Regions from separate parts of the Homo sapiens genome. Here region 1 is linked to region 2. Evidence: promoter capture Hi-C in human tissues and cell types (Jung and others, 2019). All regions are on one chromosome and are shown on one strand. The core of a region is centred on a gene start or on the middle of the fragment in contact, and the rest is flanking DNA. Distances in the headings are between cores, read along the strand shown.

Region 1 (5,395 bases), core at 946-3,445, 140 kb before region 2:
TGTTGTTGTTGTTTGTATTTTTGAGATGGAGTCTGGCTCTGTCCCCCAGGCTGGAGTGCAGTGGCACGATCTTGGCTCACTGCAACCTCCGCTTCCCAGGTTCAAGCGATTCTCCTGCCTCAGCCTCCTGAGTAGCTGGGACTACAGGCACACACCATCATGCCCGGCTAATTTTTTGTATTTCTAGTAGCGATGGGGTTTCGCCATGTTGGCCAGGCTGGTCTCGAACTCCTGACCTCAAGTGATCCGCCCGCCTCAGCCTCCCAAAGTGTTGGGATTACAGGTGTGAGCCACCGCGCCCGGCCAGGAAATATTTTTTAAAAGGAGTCATGTATGTCATGTACATTGATGTACATGAAATGTACGTCAACATTTCATATGTATTCTATATAATAAACACACTAAAGCTTGCTGCAAAACATCAGTTTAGGAATTTTTTATGAGGGTTTAATAAAACTAGCGCCATTGGAATAAATTCCCGAGTAGCCCCTGCAGTAGCGTATCTGAGCTCTCAACAGCAAAGAGCAAGAATGCTAGAGCAAATAGGATTGTGTTATGGCAGAAAATTTTATTTGATTTTTCAGTTCTGGTGATGGATTTTTAATTCATTTACAGATATCTCTGGAGCCACCATAATAGACTCTTAAGATTCTGTGCTTCCATTTCAAAATTTAGTTGGTAAATCCAGGTAAGTTGCACTATTTGCCCTAGATGACATTTGTGAGGTTTAACTGTTTTACAAAATAAAACTTAGGAGGTAACATCATTATTTTACTATAATGAGACAGGGTTTTTTCACATGGCTCTAATCCACAATTATAAGATAGTAAAAGAATTTGAGGCCGGGTACGGTGGCTCACTCCTGTAATCCTAGCACTTTGGGAGGCCGAGGCGGGCAGATCACGAGGTCAGCAGTTCGAGACCAGCCTGGCCAATATGGTAAAACCCTGTCTCTACTAAAAATATAGAAATTAGCCACACATGGTGGTGCGTGCCTGTAGTCCCAGCTACTTGGGAGGCTGAGGCAGCAGAATTGCTTGAACCCAGGAGGCAGAGGTTGTAGTGAGCTGAGATCACACCACTGCACTCCAGCTTGGGTGACAGAGCGAGACTCTGTCTCAAAAAAAAAGAATTTGAAGAGTCACCAAAAAATGATTAAAAACTATGGTGCTAAATTCTTACAGGATATATATTACAATGAGAGTCTTCACCAAAAAACCACACATCACATTTATTTCATACATTTTGGAATTATAGCTAGTCTCCAAAGTTTGGAGGGTGCTTTGTTCTTGATTTGATTCTGAGAATCTGTTTTATGAAGAACATATGCAGCATTAAGCAAATATATCTGCTTCCCACATAGTTACCTATACAAACTAGAAAAATCTAATTCTACCATTAACTACGGTCTTCTCTTTTAACATTTGAGTGTAGTTTTGCCTGTTTTTGAGTTTCATATAAATGGGAGTATGTTCTCGTGTATGACTTTTTAGCTCAACATCTTTATGTTTGTGAGATTCTTTGATATTGTTGCATGTAGCTAGAATTGGTTCGTGTTGATTTTTATGTAGTATTCTGGTACTTGACTATACCATGATTTATTTTATCTATTATGTGGTTGATGGATATTGTGGGTGGTTTCCAGGTTTTGACTATTACAAATAATGCTAATGTGAGGATTTTTGTAAATGTGCCTTGGTTGATCTGTGTGTACTTTTTAGCTGGGCATGCACCTAGCAGTGGAGTTGCTGGCTCAGAGGTGTGCTTGTGTTTAACAGATAATGCCAGAGTTGTCCACAGTGAGTGTAACAGCTCATTCTTCCACGAAAGTGTGTAAGTTTCTGTTGCTCTAGAGACTCATTAATATTTATTATTGTCAGTCTTTTTTTCTTTTTCTTTTTCTTTTTTTTTTTTTTTTTTGAGCCTGGGTCTTGCTCTGTCACCCAGGCTGAAGTGCAGTGGCACGATCATGGCTCACTGCAGCCTTGACCTCCCTGGCTCAAGCGATCCTCCCATGTCAGCCTCCCAAGTAGCTGGGACAACAGGCATGCGCCACCATGTCCAGCTAATTATTGTATTTTTTTGTAGAGATGGGGTTTCACCGTGTTGCCCAGGCTGGTCTCGAACGCCGGGGCTCAACCAATCCTCCCGCCGAGGCCTCCCAAAGTACTTGGGATCCCAAAGGGATTCCATATGTGAGCCACTGCAACTGGACTTTCAGTCATTTTTTTCAAAGTTTTAACTATTCAAGTGGATATTTAATATATCTCATTGTGATTTTAATTTTATTATTTTGAGTAATAATTAGAACACTTTTTAAAAAATTTTCAACTTTTATTTTAGATATAGAGGGTACATATGCAGGTTTGTTACATGGGTATATTGTACCCAGGCAATGAGCATAGTACCAACAGGTAGTTTTTCAGCCACGTCCCATTCCTTCTCTTCCCTATCTAGTAGTCCACAGTGTCTGTTCCCATGTTCGTGTCCATGCATGCTCAGTGTTTAGCTTCTACTTATAAATGAGAATATGCAGTATTTTATTTTCCGTCTCTGTGTTAATTTGCTTAGGATTATGGCCTCCAACTCCATCCATGTTGCTGCAAAGGACATGATTTCATTCTTTTTATGGCTGTGTCATATTTCTTGGTGCACATGTACCACATTTTCTTTATCCAGTCCACCACTGAAGGGCACCTAGGTTGATTCCATGTCTTTGCTATTGTGAATAGCATGGAGATGAACATACAATTGCATGTGTCTTTTTGGAATAAGGCTCTATTTTCCGTTGGGTATATACCCAGTAATGGGATTGCTGGGTCAAATGGTAGCTCTGTCCTAAGTTTTTTGAGGAATCTCCAAACTGCTTTCCGCAGTGGCTGAACTAATTTACATTCCCGTCAACAGGTATAAGCATTCCCTTTTCTCCACAGCCTCTTCAGCATCTGTTGTTTCTTGACTTTTTATAATAGCCATTCTGACTGCTGTGAGATAGTATCTCATTGTGGTTTTGATTTGCATTTCTCTAATAGTGACAATGAACATTTTTTCATGTTTCTTGGCCACTTATGTGTCTTTTGAGAAGTGTCTGTTCATCTCCTTTGCCCATTTTTTTTTTTAAGACAGAGTCTTGCTCTGTGGCCCAGTGCTCTGCACTGGAGTGCCGTGGTGCGATCTCAGCTCACTGCAAGCTCCGCCTCTCGGGTTCAAGCGATTCACCTGCCTCAGCCTCCCAAGTAGCTGGGAATACAGGTCTGCACCACCATGCCCAGCTAATTTTTGTATTTTTATTAGAGATGAGGTTTCACCATGTTGGCCAGGCTGGTCTCAAACTCCTGACCTCAAGTGATCTGCCTGCCTTGGCCTCCCAAAGTGATGGGATTACAGGTATGAGCCACTGTGTCTGACCATTTTGCCTTTTTTTTTTTTTTGAGACAGAGTTTTGCTCTGTTGCCCAGTCTGGAGTGCAATGGTGTGATCTCGGCTCACTGCAGCCTCCGCTTCCGGGTTCAAGCGATTCTCCTGCCTCAGCCTCCTGAGTAGCTGGGACTACAGGCGTGTGCCACCACTCCCAGCTAATTTTTATATTTTTAGTAGAGGTGGGGTTTCACCATGTTGGCCAGGATGGTCTCGATCTCCTGGCCTCATGATCTGCCCGCCTCGGCCTCCCAAAGTGCTGGTATTACAGGCTTGAGCCACCACTCCCGGCTGATTTTGCCTATTTTTTAATGGGATTATTTTTTGCTTGTTGATTTAAGCTTCTTATAGATTCTGGATATTAGTCCTTTGTCAGAAGCATAGTTTGTGAATATTTTCTCCCATTCTGTAAGTTTACTCTGTTGATAGTTGCTTGTGCTGTGCAGAAGCTGTTTAGTATAGTAAGGTCACACATGTCAATTTTTGTTTTGTTGCGGTTGCTGTTGAGGACTTAGCCAAAAATTCATTGCCAAAGCTGATGTTTAGAGGGGTATTTGCTAGATTTTTCTCTAGGATTTTTTTTTCCCCCTTGAGACAGGGTCTGGCTCTGTCACCTAGGCTAGAGTGCAGTGGCTCACTGCAACCTCCGCCTCCCTGGTTCAAGCGATTCTCCTGCCTCAGCCTCCTGAGTAGGGAGCCACCACACCCAGCTGATTTTTATATTTTCAGTAGAGTTTCTCCATGTTGGCCAGGCTGGTCTTGAATTCCTGACCTCAAGTGATCCACCCGCCTCAGCCTTCCAAAGTGCTGGGATTACAGGTGTGAGCCACTGCGCCTGGCCTCTTCTGGGATTTTTATAGTTTGAGGTCATACATTTAAATATCGAATCCATCTTGAGTTAATTTTTGTACATGGTGAAAGGTATGGGTCTGGTTTCAATCTTCTGCATATGGCCAGCCAGTCATCCCAGCACCATTTACTTAATAGGGAATCCTTTTCCCACTGCTTGTTGGTGATGGCCTTGTCGAAGATGAGATGGTTGTAGGTGTGAAGCTTTATTTCTGAGTTTTCTCTTCTGTTCCATTCTATTCTACTCTGTTTTTGTACCAGTACCATACTATTTTGGCTACTATAGCCAGTGTGATGCCTCCAGCTTTGTTCTTTTTACTTAGAATTGCTTTGGCTATTAATATTCGCTCTTTTTTGGTTCCATATGAATTTTAGAACGGTTTCCTTTTCTAATTCCATGAAGAATGATGTTGGTAGTTTGATAGAAATAGTGTTGGGTCTGTAAGTTCCTTTGGGCAGCATGGCCATTTTAACATCTTTCAATCCATGAGCATGGAACATTTTTCATTTAATTTTGTCATGTCTGATTTCCTTCAGCAGTGTTTCATAGTTCTCCTTCTAGAGATCTTTCACCTCTTTGGTTAGCTGTATTCCTAAGTATTTCATTTTCTTTGTGGCTATAATAAATGGGATTGTGTTCTTGATTTGCCTGTCAGCCTGGATGTTACTGGTGTATAGAAATGTTACTGATTTTTATATTTGTACGTTGATTTTGTATCTTGAAATCTTATTAAAATTGTTCATCAGTTCTAGTAGCCTTTTGGCAAAGTCATTAGGGTTTTCTAGGTATAGAATCATATTGTCAGTAAAGAGAGATAGTTTGGCCAGGCATGGTGGCTCATGCCTGTAATCCAAGCACTTTGGGAGGCTGAGGCAGGCAGATCCCGAGTTCAGGAGATCAAGACCATCCTGGCTAACACAGTGAAACCCTGTCTCTACTAAAAATACAAAAAATTAGCCGGGCATGGTGGCACGCGCCTGTAGTCCCAGCTACTTGGGAGGCTGAGGCAGGAGAATCAGTTGAACCTGGGAGGCAGAGGTTTCAATGAACCAAGATAGCACTACTGCACTCCAGCAGCCTGGGCAACAGAGCAAGACTACGTCTAAAAAATAAAATAAAAATAAAATA
Region 2 (5,047 bases), core at 914-3,413:
CTGCGCTGGGCTAGCGAGCGGCACTGGCGCGCTGGGCAGGTAGGGCAGCGCGGGGCTGCGGGCCGCGCCAGGCGGCCAGGGGAAAGGCCCGGCACCAGAGCCCTGCGGGAACACAGCGGCCTCGCCCGGGCTGTGACCAGCGAATTCGGGCCCCGCAGGGTGCAGCTGATAGGAGAAATCCGGCTCCGGGAGCGAACCCAGCGGCGGAAAGGCGGGCTCCGCGCCCAGGCGGGCCTTGGACTGCAAGAAGGCGAGGATGCGCGCGTACTTCGTGTCCTTGGTCTCCATCCGCTCCACCGTGGTGAGGTAATGCACCAGGTTCTTCATGCACTCGTGGTAGCCATAGTGGAAGTAGTTGGCAAACTCCGCTAGAAGTTCTGCTGGAGGAACGAGAAAGCCCGTAGGACGGACACACCCTGAGTGCCCCTTCCCCACGCGAGCCCAAAGCGGGTGCAGGGCACCTCCCACCACATTTTCTGGCCAAAGTTCCCATTTGAGGCCCGCCCTCTCCTCTGCGCAGTCTTAGAGACTGGCGAGGCACGCGCAAACGCCCTCTTTCCCTGAGAGCCTGACCCCACCCACCCCACCCGGGAGAAGGAGGTGGAACCAGCCTCCCTGGGAACCAGTTCTCCCTCGCCGCCTTGCTGTCGCCGAGCAGGGAGAGGCGCCTTCGCAGGACCCCTGCCCTCCTGGAGAGTGGAGCTCTAGTAGAGCTCTCGGGAACACTCAGTCACTCCCCTCCCAGCCCCAGGGTCTCTGGGTGGCGCAGGCGCCTGGCCCAGGCGTCCCATTCCCTAACCTGTGCCCACCTTTTTCCCTTCCCCGGGGAAAATCAGCGGAGTGCAGTGCTCTCAGGTACTGAACGGTCATCTCGAGGATCTCCGCCTTCTCCAGCTTCCCGGAACTCTGCAAAAGGAGGAAGGGCCCCTCGCAGCGGCCCAGCGCCTGCTGGTCGGGCACTGTGGCGCTGGAGAGGACCAGCGAGCGGACGCGGCTGCGGATCTGCGCCAGAGCCTCCTGAGGTTCGCCCTGCGCTCAGGCCCCCCGCCTGGGAGGGGCCCGCAAGTGAGGTCCTCTGTGTCCGCGGGCTCGGGCGTCTCCGCAGAGTGGCCGCAGAGGCCTCCCAACGCCTGGCACCCGGCTCCGGGTCGCCAACGTTACCTGCTTCGCCAAGGCCATGGGCACTGTCTTGCCCAGCTCGTTCAAGCAGCGGTTGATCCTGTCCCTCCTCCGCTTTTCTATCACTTTATGAGAAACGGGGGTTCTCTGCGAAGAGAGGGTTGTATGTTTAGGATGGCTTTGCCCGGGAAGTCGTCAAAGGCGCGGCTCTAGCAGCTGGGTGCAAGCCGCCTCTCCAGCCGCGCACACTGCTCAGATTCGCTCTAGGAAGGGACTCCTGGCCCGCCACGCTCGGGCCAGGTGAGCTCTGCCTTCTGACGCCCGCGCTGGCGCGCTCCCCTTCCAGCCACCCTACCCAGGCCTTTGGGGAGGTGGCCGCCAGCCTCCAGGCAGGACTTCTACCTGGTTGAGCACCCTCCTCTCTCTACCCCACCCCCTTCCCAAACCACTCGAGATTCCTCCACACTCAAAGTCCCGTGCGGGCACTTCCCTGCCATCGGTCCACCCAAGTGGCGGGTCGGTGAGTCAGATGCCTCCACCACCAGGGCGCAAGTGCCATTTGGGCTCAGCCGACTCACTTTGCGTTCCTTGAGCTTGTCTGACATCCTGGTCAGTACGCGCCCTCGGGAGAGGCGGTGGCGCGGGGCACCCGTCCACTTTTCCGCCTCGTGTGCCTCCTCGAGTGTCCCAGGTAGACTGCAGCCTCCCAACTCCGAGGGCTGCCTTATAAAGCGGTCATCTAGGGCTCCAGATGCATTCACGAGTTGAATTATTCCATAGGATTAGGGGAGCTGCGTTTGGAGGATGTATGCATTCAAGATCAGTTTTAAAGAAGTTAAGAAAAAAAAAAAATTAGCAGCCGAGGGGGGCGAGCTGGGGGCAGATCAGCTTTGTTAATCCACGTGGCCCTTCAAAGGACACGTGATCGGCCCAGGAATAACATTTGCATGGCAACAGCTCGGGCGGGAAAAGGAGGCGGTAAACTGGGGCCGGCGGGCGAGCAAGCGCCTGCAGCAGTCGCGGGCGCGGAGCGCAGGGGCGCAGCGGCCGCGGGCACCGGGGGGCGAGGACCCTCACAAAACAGTGTCGCCTCTTTTAGTCCCACCGCTGAGTCTCACATGATCGCCTGTTTACAAATCCCAGCAAGCCCGCCGTCCCAGCGCCGAGTGCGTTTTAAAGCCTGTCCAGAGTCATTAAAGTAATTAAGTAAGCCTTTAATAGGCTGTTCCGCCGGGTTCAAGGGAGAGCTCTTGGAGACGGAGGCGCCCCGTTTGTTCCCAGGCTTTTCTCACACGACTTGGTGACACGTCCTTCTCCCCCCTTTTTGTTTACACCGCTTTATTTGTCCGGACATCCCGGCAGGTGTGGGGCTGCGGCTGGCACACGAGGCTCCCGCCTCGCCTCGCCTCGCCCCTCCCGCCGCTGTTTGGCACGCGACGCTCCCCCCTACTCCCTGACCACGTCGCTGGCTTTCTTTTCTCCCCACCCCTCCTGCTCCCTCTTCGCGGGGGGAAGAGGCTCAATTTGTAGCCTATTATCCTATACGAAAATGTCCATTGAAAAGTATGAATAGTTTCATTGGGCTAAATTTTAATAATGCCAGAGGGTGGGGGAGGAGAGACTGGCGGGCGTGTGTGTGTGTTTGTGTGTGAAGGGGCGGGTGGGAGGATTGGGGGGCAACACGGAGAAGAGTGGGCCGAGAAGAAAAGGGGGAATGCAGCTGGCCCAGGCAAGCATTATGCAACGTCACCTGCGAGAGGGGGCGCCTACAGACCCCTATTCATTTGCCTAATTTTGGTCAATTTAACAAACTTCAGGAGAAATTATTGTGGCTTTGTCAGGGAGGGTGAAGCCTTCTGATCGAATTAACAGCATGTTTTGATCCGGTAAATGTCATTAGAAAGGGAGAAACAATCGCGCTTAGAGGGCTCTGAGTAATGCGCCCAAGTGGAGACGCCAAAGCGCACGGCTCACAAAGGGAGCAAGTAGCTGCCACAGGGAACTTTTGTACCCGCCCATCGCCCAAGTTTTGACACAAAAAGGCATTATTTCATACTTGAATACGTTTAATCCAACGATTGTCTATTTTCTGCAAACATATTTTCACAGCATTGTTAACTTTTTATGTCTCCCTTTCGCTGGCGTCTTTTCTTAACGTTTGGGGGCGGGAGAGCGCAGACACTTTGGGCATCAATATTTGTCACTGAAAAGGGCCCTGTGAAGTTTGGGAAGTTGATCTCTTTTTTATGGTTTTAGAAAGCGAAAATATCGGGGGGAGGAGGAGGGAGGGAAGGCACGAACAGAAACGAGGGAGGAAATTTGCTGGACGGGCCCAAGGGGAAGGAGGGGGGCGGCGGCGGCTGGGAACTCTCTTGGCCGCCTGCGCCTCTGAGGGCAACCTGGCCCCGCGGCCAGAGGCCACCTCCCCCAGGACGGGCCTCGCTCACACTTGCTGCCTCGGATCCTATACTCTGGGGGCTCTGAGCTTGTGGGGTGTGGGTGGGGGGTGAGCTTTCTTGCAGATTGAAACGATAAAAATGATTTTTGTTTTATGGCCCTTTCTAGAGCCACCGAACTCTCACCTCTCTAATCTTTTCCATCTGGGAACAGCTGAGACCGCTTCTCAGATTTTTCTTCTTTTCTGCCTGCCCCTAACCCTGCCTAAATTCTCTCTGTTCTGCAGGGAGATGGCAGGGCCCAGCGCCCCCCTTGGGGTCGTTAGACCTTGGCAGGGGTGGGTAGGCGGCGCTCTTCTAGCTGGTGGGACCTGGGAGCCTCAGGGCGCAGAGCCAGGCCTGGGGTGCCAGGCCTCGGGGAAGCCATCGGCCCACCTGCTGCGGCCTGGGAGATGTGAGGGCTCGGTCTGCACCTCGCACCCCTAGGGTGTCCCTCTCGGTCCTGCCTCTAGTCTCCTCACGATGTTTCCTTTCTGCTTCACGCCAGATTGGACACGATCCGCACCCTCCCAGGTTGCTCTGCCAGCCGCGAGTGCCCTCTCAGGGGTTGTCGATTTCAGGATATTCACTCGCACACAAAGAGATTAAACGCGAACCCTTATCATCCAAATTAACTAACGTGAATGGGTAAAAAGGAGCGCGCACACTTCGCACTCCCACTCCCATTTTTAAGCCAGCGGCCCGGGCGTTGATCCTCTTACTGCCGGTGTTAACCGCCAGCTGCAGGCACCTTCCACGGACCACATTTCATTCCATGCACACTGTTTAATTTCCCGGGTTTGGTCTCGGCGCTTGGCTCAAGGCTTGCCCAGGGCTAAAAGTACCCGCGTGCAGGTGAGGGGGCAAGGGAAGGCCGGTGAGTGGAGACTTGGGCTCAGGGGCGCAGCCTCGCCCGGTCCTTGCGCGGCTGCAGCACTACCTGCGAAACCTGGAACGCCCTCCGCTTCAGGATAGGGAAGGACGTATTTCCTTTCTCCCTTCTCGGTCCGAAGGCCTGGGTCACACACGCTGCCCCAGAGTGGGGCGCCTCAGGGCTGTCTTCTCTTTGCTTCTCCTCAGGGTGAAGATCAGGAGTTCCCTGATCCTGGCCTAGTTTCCACGCAACATAAGAGCAGAGTAGGGAAGAGCCGAGGTTCGCCGGAGCCAGCCAGCCTGTTCAGATCCCAGCCCTACCGCCCACCAGCTGGGTGAGACTCGAGGCATCGTCCTGAATCTACTGTCCCTCAGTTTCCTCATCTGTAAAATGGAAATAATGTTTCTACTATGTTACCGGGTGGTCACTCCAGTGAAATAAGTAAATACAGACGAGGCACCTAAAAGAAGACTGGATCGTGCAGTTAGTGGTTTTACTTTGCCTGCAAATCTCTCCTACGGTGGCTCTTCTGTGTTTTACAGGGTAGTGTGGAGTTTGCACTGTTAGATGATTTTTCCACTCATTTCATTTTTTGCCCTCATCCCAGAGAAAGCTCTAG

The links. The method cuts DNA at HindIII sites, captures the fragments that hold promoters and counts their contacts. A contact is called where the count stands out against the background at its distance.
Region 1: a fragment that was not itself captured here is called in contact with the fragment with the promoter of HELT in region 2 in 2 of the 25 tissues and cell types used here (bladder and liver).

What each region holds. Positions count from the first base shown.
Region 1 is chr4:185,153,981-185,159,375 of GRCh38, reverse strand. No RefSeq gene overlaps it. Among named protein-coding and RNA genes, the nearest start is that of SLC25A4, 13 kb to the right of the region's middle. The HindIII fragment of the contact is 5,742 bases long and covers 1-5,066 here.
Region 2 is chr4:185,015,606-185,020,652 of GRCh38, reverse strand. HELT (helt bHLH transcription factor) reads right to left here and starts at 2,163. Exons shown (of 4, transcript NM_001300781.2): 1 at 1,698-2,163; 2 at 1,162-1,266; 3 at 810-906; 4 at 1-380. The coding sequence starts at 1,724. RefSeq lists enhancers at 1-459, 1,174-1,753, 1,754-2,332, 2,333-2,913. The HindIII fragment of the contact is 22,587 bases long and covers 1-5,047 here.